Linked DNA regions of Homo sapiens: regions 2 and 3 are each linked to region 1. The links are contacts of gene promoters, found by promoter capture Hi-C in human tissues and cell types (Jung and others, 2019). All regions are on one chromosome and are shown on one strand. The core of a region is centred on a gene start or on the middle of the fragment in contact, and the rest is flanking DNA. Distances in the headings are between cores, read along the strand shown. Region 1 holds the start of GALR3 (galanin receptor 3). Region 2 overlaps TMEM184B (transmembrane protein 184B). Region 3 holds the start of CDC42EP1 (CDC42 effector protein 1).

Region 1 (2,646 bases), core at 49-2,548:
GTGGGAGTGCCAGAGACTGGCTGGGCCCTGGGCACAGAGGGGTTAACTACAAAGCAAATCACAGAGAGCGAGATCAATGGGTTACTGGCTGCAGAGAGAGGAAAAGGCAGCAGCAACGCAGAGAGGCAGAGAAGAGCCAGGCAGAAGAGCCTGCCACCTGGGGGAAATCAGGGACTGAGGAGGAAGTGGCCAGTGGCTACTCCAGAGGGAGTGCCCAACTCCGGCTCAGCAGAGGGGGCAGAGGAGAGGAGGGGCCTTAAAGGCAAAGGGGGAGAAGTAGAAGGCAGACCAGTACCTGCAGGGAGGCACCAAGGGGCAGCCGCTGAATCAGGAGGCCCACCCAGCCCGGCCATTCCACCCAGGATCAAGCCCACTGCCCAAGGCGGAGGTGGGTGTTGCCCATCCTGGGCTTTGGGGACCTACTGCATGCTGGGTGCTGGGATGGGGGCAGACATTGCCTTTCTTCCCTACTCCCTGCCTGACCCCCCTTTCCCCTACTTTGTCCCACCACCCCAGTGGTCTCAAGCCTGCAAGGAGATCCACAGGCAGTAGGAGACATGGGCTGTAGAGTGGGATGGGGGTGAGCATGGGTGCGGTGTGCACACACACAAGTTGTCAGAGGCACCACCTGTTACAAGCTCTCAGATGAGCACTCTAGCTTAAGAGGCAGGATACCAGGGTGGCAACAGCCCCAGAGCTGCCATTTCGAGTGTGATATTATCCTCCCATGTCCCCTCTCTGGGCCTCAATTTCCCTATGTGCAGAGAGGAAGCAGTGACCTACACGGTCTTCCCAGTTTTGCCATTGTGATGATCTCACTATACTGGACCCTCCAATGACTCAGGGATGTTACCCGTGTTTTGCTAAGGCTACAGCTTGTAGCCAGAGAAAGCCCTAAACCCATGTCCCAGGGTCTCCCCTGAGCTTCAGATCCCCATTGAGAAGGAAAACATACCAGTTTCTGGGTTTGGCCCCTCCCCCCATCGCCATATCTTCATCCTACTTCGCTTGTGCCTTCCCCAGCCTCGTGGGTTGAAAGTGTCCCTCAAATACCTAGGTAGTCCTCCAGGCAGGACTCCAGGGGTGTTCCTTAGGAAACTGAGGAACTCTCACCCCTTGAACACCACGAGCTTGCTCACACAGTGACACTCAGCGATGACTTTGGCTCTGCTCTCCCCTCCTCCATCTCCCACGAGCTTCCAGCCCAGAACACCTGGCCAGACCCAGGTCGGGGGAGTTAGATCCCGGGGTCAAGCAACCAGAACTGGGGGCTCTTGCCTGAGGATTCCAGCTTCTCTTCCCAGGTGCCCGTCTGATGGGGAGATGGCTGATGCCCAGAACATTTCACTGGACAGCCCAGGGAGTGTGGGGGCCGTGGCAGTGCCTGTGGTCTTTGCCCTAATCTTCCTGCTGGGCACAGTGGGCAATGGGCTGGTGCTGGCAGTGCTCCTGCAGCCTGGCCCGAGTGCCTGGCAGGAGCCTGGCAGCACCACGGACCTGTTCATCCTCAACCTGGCGGTGGCTGACCTCTGCTTCATCCTGTGCTGCGTGCCCTTCCAGGCCACCATCTACACGCTGGATGCCTGGCTCTTTGGGGCCCTCGTCTGCAAGGCCGTGCACCTGCTCATCTACCTCACCATGTACGCCAGCAGCTTTACGCTGGCTGCTGTCTCCGTGGACAGGTGCGCTGTGCCTGGGGCCTGGCTGGGCAGGGCTGTGGGGGCGGGGGTTGGGGGAGGAGTCCTGAACAGATCCTCACTGGCCTTAGGAAGGAGAGAGTGGGGGACCAGAAAGGGAGGTGGGTGGGAGGAAACAAAAGCTCCCTGACCCCTCGCAAGCAGCCTCTGGGCACCTGCAGGGCGTGCTTGAGGGGACTGTCCTGCCCTTCCCCTCCTCCACTGTGAACTTCCAGAGGACGCCTCTGAGTCTCAAGTGGCAGCACAGGGTCTGGCACATAGTAAGTGCTCTGTAAGCGCGAAATGAATCGCAAAAGAAGCTCACGAATGCGTTCATCAGTTTTTTTGTTTTGTTTTGTTTTGTTGTTTTTTTTTTTTGGATCTTGGCTCACTGCAACCTCTGCCTCCTGGGTTCCAGCGATTCTCCTGCCACAGCCTCCTGAGTAGCTGGGATTACAGGCCACCACACCTGGCTAATTTTTTGTATTTTTAGTAGAAACGGGGTTTTGCCATGTTGGACAGGCTGGTCTCGAACCCCTGACCTCAAGTGATCCGCCCGCCTCGGCCTCCCAAGTGCTGGGATTACAGGCGTGAGCCACCGCGCCCAGCCCAGCTATTTTCTAACTGCCCACACCTGGCCAAGCTGTGCACACATCTGCTTCCACAGCTTGAAACTTGGGGTCAAATCCAGGCTCACTCCAGCTGATGACCCTGGGCAAGTCACTTCTCTCTGGACCTCATCTGACGCATCCATAAAATAATCCTAGAAATAACAAGTCACCGGGATCGGGCCCTTGCTAGGTGCAAGGGCCTAAGCACCTTGCGCGTTCACACCCTTAATCCCCGCCACGTCCCCCACGGTTCACAGGAGGCGCACTGGGCCGCAGGGCCCGGGCGCGGGACGTGGCGCGGGCCCCTGCGGGAGGGCACCTGCCCGCCCCGCTGACCAGGCGCCCTCCGCAGGTACCTG
Region 2 (2,646 bases), core at 47-2,546, 440 kb after region 1:
GCAGCTCCGAGACACACCGCCCAGACCTGCTTCTTCCCTCGGCAATCCACCTTGCTGCTCAATCCGGCACAGTGCGTTGAGCGTCCATCTTATGTATTATGGCCACGCGGTATCCCATGTTTAGACGGGCCATGGTTTGTTCATTGGCCCCTGCGAATGAACATTTAAGCTGCCTCCAATCTTTTGCTATTAAAAATAAGGCAACAATGACGAACCTTGCAAATAAATCATTTTGCACACGTGTTAACCCATCCGTAGAATAAATTCTGGGAGGCAGAGCTGCCGGTGAAAGTATAGAAACATCTGTAATTTTGGAAAATATTGCCAGAGAGGCACAGTACATTTAAATTGTTCATCCAAGAAATGAGCCTCAATGTTGGGGGAAATATAGAAAATATGTAGGTTTCTGTTTGTTTTTTGAGATGCAGTCTCGCTCTGTCTCCCAGGCTGAAGTGCGGTGATGCAATCTCAGCTCACTGCAATCTTTGCCTCCCAAGTTCAAGCGATTCTTCTGCCTCAGCCTCCCGAGTAGCTGGGATTACAGGTGCGTGTCACCACGCTGGGCTAATTTTTGTATTTTTAGTAGAGATGAGGTTTCACCATGTTGGCCAGGCTGGTCTCGACCTCCTGACCTCAAGTTACCTGCCCACCTCGGCCTCCCAAAGTGCTGGGATTACAGGCGTGAGCCACCGCGACCAGCCAATACATAGTTTAAAGTTGTCCAAGTGAAGAAACGGTAGAGAAAGGCTGTTTTCAACAAATGGAGCTCTGGGTAGGGACACGGTGCTGAACCCACACCGGCCCCAACTCACTTGGTGCTCTGGTCCACACGCTTGCATTTCCCAGCTGTCAGTAAAAGGCTAGGCCCACTTGGCCCCTTGACCCTTCTCAGGGCTCTGATGTCCTGGTCCCAGGAAGTGTGAACGGTGACCTGAGCCACTATGACAAGCAGCCATAATTGGTCTCCCCAGGCGCCCATGAAGATGAGCAGGCAGGCCAGGTGGGAGGGGGTGGGGGTGCAGAGCCCAAGAGGGCCAAGTGCTTCCAGTCTAGCCATTCCAGATGAGTGGTGAGCACCTCTTGCCACATACCCTGCACAAGCTGCAGGGGACACCACAGCCATGCAAGACCACTCCCACTCCATGACATTCACTCAGCTGGCTCTGCTCCTGGGTCCATCACAGATCTGTTATGTAACTCCTGTGCCCAACAGCCATCACCACCTAAGCATCAAGCCAGGGAGTTGAGGAGATGGAGGCGGGTCTCTGGAAGGCACACCGAGTATCAAGTCAGGACAGCCAACTCTATGTAGAAGCAGGGCAGGCCTTTCTCCCACTTCCACAAATCTGGCCCAACTACTGCAAACTGGGAAAAGAAGGAAAAGTCTTCTGCCCCCGGCCGAGTAGGAGATACCTCTTAGCAAACCAAAGGAAGCATTTGAGAGAAAGAACCCTTGTCAACCTCATCTCCCAGCCCAAGCCGTGCTCCCACTGACTGAGACGGCCAGGCACTCCAGTAAATCAAATCATACTTACATGCTCTGAGGTTACTGCTATTAAAATTATCTAACCTATGCATCCTGCATCTACCTTTCTTCTCAAAGCAAATATGTACTGTTTTGGAAAATCTAGATTTTCCCACATCCTATTTAAACTCCATTGACAAATCTGTGTATAGATGCACTTTCTCCTCCTGGAGATGAGGCTAGGACCCCACATGCTCTGGGAAGTGGTCACGAGACCTCTGCTCCTTGAGTAACCTGCCTGTCTCATTCCTCTGTGTGTGCTCAAGGTGGTCCCACTCCCTGCAAAGACCTCCTGCACTTCACCTGCCAACCTCCACTGTCCACTGAGCCTCAGCCCAACTACCCTTGTTCCAGAGAGCACCGGCTCCTCAGCTCACCCCCAGGCAGAGCCGACTGCTGCCTCCTGGAACCCCCATGGTTTTAACCTGAAGCTTTATTCACGTGCTTTCCAGGTCTAAGCAGCAATCCAATACACTGGCCTTCCCAGTGTGGCTGCAAGCTCTCCAAGGGCAGGTCTGTGTTGGGGGTAGCTACTCAGCAGGAAGGGCCCAGGACTCAAAACCAGAAAACCTGGGTGCTTCCTCCCCCAGGATCTTAGGCAATTCACCCCTCTGAGCCTCAGTCTCTCCATCTATAAAATAGGTGCAATAATTTCAAGGTTTCAGGGCAGTTAAAAGGATTACATAAAACCATATATTTGAAATATAACTTGCAAAGCCCCACAAATTCCAATGAGAATATTAATATAACTAGCATGTTAATATTAATTAATATCCTCACACATACCCTTCACCAACATCTATCATTGTGCCTCGCAGGCACCCAAACTGACTGCTGATGGGATCCCAGATTCACTGCTCACTCTGCATGAAACAAAAACCACAGGCGCTAGAGGTGGGGACCAGGAGGCTCTGCCAGTAGCTACAGCGGCGCCATGGGGTTAGTTATTTTCTCTCGGAGCTTTTCGGTAAATGGGGAACAGCCCTGCTGAGTGGAGTGGAGGTTCTCAGCCACTTGCCAGCAGGAGAGGCCCCATTCTGGGTGCAGGCAGTCCACAGGGGTTGGAGCAGGAGATAAATAAAGGTACCAAGCTCCACACACGTCCCTTGGAGTAGGGGGGC
Region 3 (2,646 bases), core at 103-2,602, 260 kb before region 1:
TTAAGACTTAACTCACAACCATGCAGTGGCTCACACCCATAATCCTAGCACTTGAGGAGGCCAAGGCAGGCGGATCACCTGAGGTAAGGAGTTCAAGACCAGCCTGGCCAACATGGTGAAGCCCCCTCTCTACTAAAAAATACAAAAATTAGCCGGGCGTGGGTGGGTGCCTGTAATCCCAGCTAGTCCGGAGGCTTAGGAGGGAGAATCGCTTGAACCCGGGAGGTGGAAGCTGCAGTGAGCTGAGATCATGCCATGGCACTCCAGCCTGAGCAACAGAGAGAGACTCCGTCTCAAAAAAAAAAAAAAAAAAAAAAAAAAAAAAAAAAAAAAAAAAAAGAGAGAGAGAGAGACTTAACTCAGGTATCATCTCCTCTAGGAAGATTTCCTGAGCCCCCAGGCCCTGCAGGAAGTATTAGGGACCTCTCTGTGCCCTGACAGCCCGAGGACTCTATAGTCAGATGGGAGTAGTCAAAGGAGGGCACAACAACGGGAGGCAGGGGCCAGAGATCTATCTCCCCTCCTTGAGGATGGCACAGGGTCCCGGGTATGGCTGATTCCCTGCCCTCCATGGAGGTGGGCGGGGTGGGGGGAGGGTCTGTAAAGTCTCTGAGATGCGACTTCATTTACCTGCCGAGCAAGCCTCCTAGGTGCTCTTGGAGCAGGAAACACTTCACACAACATCTGATGCTGCTATTATCTATCCCACTTTCAGATCAGGAAACTGAGGCAGAGAAAGGTAAGTAGTGACTGAGGCAGGACAGGAGCCCAGGCTGTCCGGCTCCAGGGTCCCGGTCTTGACGGCCACTCTACCCCACTCTACCAGTCGCCCCAGTATGGCTGTCTTCCTCCTGGGCACCGCGGGGCCTGTACCGGATGGAAGGGAATGAGAATGGGGAGCAAAGGAGTGGGCATGTCATGCCTGTAAACATCAAGGTTTAAAGGCCCAGGCATTCAAGGCCTCAGATCGAGCTTCCCGGTTCCCCGAACTCCCGCAGGGCGCGGCTGGAGGGCCCAGGAGGGAGGAGAGTTCATCAGGCCTGGACGCCCCAAGCAAGGCCACGAGGGGAACCGGTGGAAGAGGGGTTGGCGGCCGGGGACCGGAGTCGCCTCCCCGGGGCAGCCCGCACGTTCCCCGGCTGGCCTTGTCCGGGGTGGCGAGCAGAGGCCTGGCCTGGCCCCCCAGCCGCGTCCCTGCCAGCTCTCGGCGGCCGCGAGGACGGTGCCGGGGAGGGGGCCGGGGAGGGGGCCGGGCCCCGCCCGCGGGCGGGAGGAGACGGGCGGGAGGCGGGAGCGCCCACACCCCGCCCCCGCCCCCGGATCCAGCCCGCGGAGCCCGCGGCCAGGGCGGCGCAGACCGGCCCAGCGACTCTCCCGGGCTGCCAGCCGGGACGCGCGGCCGCCGCCGCTGCAGACGACGAGTCCGCCCTCGTCCCGCGCCCCCGGGGCTCGCGGAGCCAGGTAACAGCCCGGGCGCGCGGGTCCTCGGGGCGGAGGCCGTGGAGGCCGGCGGGTCCCGGCGCCCGCGGGGACTCTGCACCCTACTAGGCTCCCGGGGCCGGAACGGGGACGGGACCCGCCCGGGAGAGGCGCCCCCGGGTGCCCACAGGAAGGCCGGGCGCGGCCGCGGAGCCGCGCGAGGAAACTCCGAGCTTTCGGGCTTCGTGTCCCGTTCCAGGCTGGTGGAGGGGGCAGAGGATCGGACACGGCTGAGCGGCCAAAATGCGCGAGGAGGGGGCGAGCCGAGGGGCAGAGCGGGGGCTGTCTCCGCGCCTTCCTGCGCGGGGGAAGGAAGGGCCGGGGCGGGCAGCGGGCGACGCGGCGGAATGTCTCCCCTCCGCCGAGGCCCACGCGGAGAGCGGGAAGTGGGGGGTGGGGGGCCCGGGGAGATGGACAGGCACCCTGCCCCCCTCCCCGACCGCCGCATTCCAGGCTGGAGCCGCGGATGAGGTCATCCCGTCCGGTTCCCCTCCGGCCAAGACAGCCGGTCGTCCCCTTCCCCCGCGGAGCGACCCTCCGCGTCCTGAGCCCCGTCCCCCCAGGGAATGTTGGATGGCCGAAGTCTTTCCCGGACTTCCAATCCCGGCCGCCCTCCAGATTGTTCTGCCTTTGCCCCAGCAGTGCCAGACCCGCAACATTCGAAGCCCTTTTCCTAGACCGGGAAACTGAGGCTTAGAGAGTAGGGGGGACTGGCCGGGAGGCCGCAGCGGCACTAAACGTGGCGCGGGGACCCGAGACGCGGCCCGCAGCCGCTCCGTCTCGCTCGGTCCCGGGCTGGTTCGGCTCTAACTCGGGGCGGTGGGCACGAAGCGCGTCTCCTTTCCACTTTCCCCGTCGCTCCCTAATGGCCCACGGTGCCCCCCTTGGAATACGGAGGACCGGGTCCCCTAGCGCGACTGCGAACAACTAGCTACCCCGTTCTGGCCTCAGTTTCCCCGTCTCTCCACCTTGAAGCGTCTGGACTTTGAGGAGCAGGAGAAGTCAGCCGACCGGTTTAACCCCTTATTCCAGGGACCAGAGCAGGTTTGGGGGAGCTGCCGTAACCATGACAGGGACCCGCTGTCCAGCGGTGGGGGGGGGCGTCACCCAGCTGGATGCCCGCAGGAAGTGGGCTGTGTGCACCCGAGCAGTGGCCTCCAGGATGAG

The links. Contacts are between HindIII fragments. The study calls those that stand out against the background at their distance.
Region 2: a contact is called between a fragment that was not itself captured here and the fragment with the promoter of GALR3 in region 1, in 2 of the 25 tissues and cell types used here (dorsolateral prefrontal cortex and stomach).
Region 3: a contact is called between the fragment with the promoter of CDC42EP1 here and the fragment with the promoter of GALR3 in region 1, in 1 of the 25 tissues and cell types used here (lymphoblastoid cells).

The regions. Positions count from the first base shown.
Region 1 is chr22:37,822,084-37,824,729 of GRCh38, forward strand. GALR3 (galanin receptor 3) reads left to right here and starts at 1,299. Exons shown (of 2, transcript NM_003614.2): 1 at 1,299-1,682; 2 at 2,640-2,646. The coding sequence starts at 1,324. The HindIII fragment of the contact is 28,947 bases long and covers 1-2,646 here.
Region 2 is chr22:38,263,404-38,266,049 of GRCh38, forward strand. The region is part of intron 1 of TMEM184B (transmembrane protein 184B); the gene reads right to left. Among named protein-coding and RNA genes, the nearest start is that of TMEM184B, 8.3 kb to the right of the region's middle. RefSeq lists an enhancer at 483-983. The HindIII fragment of the contact is 7,395 bases long and covers 1-2,646 here.
Region 3 is chr22:37,559,128-37,561,773 of GRCh38, forward strand. It overlaps CDC42EP1 (CDC42 effector protein 1), which reads left to right and starts at 1,353. Exons shown (of 3, transcript NM_152243.3): 1 at 1,353-1,461. RefSeq lists enhancers at 1,989-2,595, 2,596-2,646. The HindIII fragment of the contact is 19,033 bases long and covers 1-2,646 here.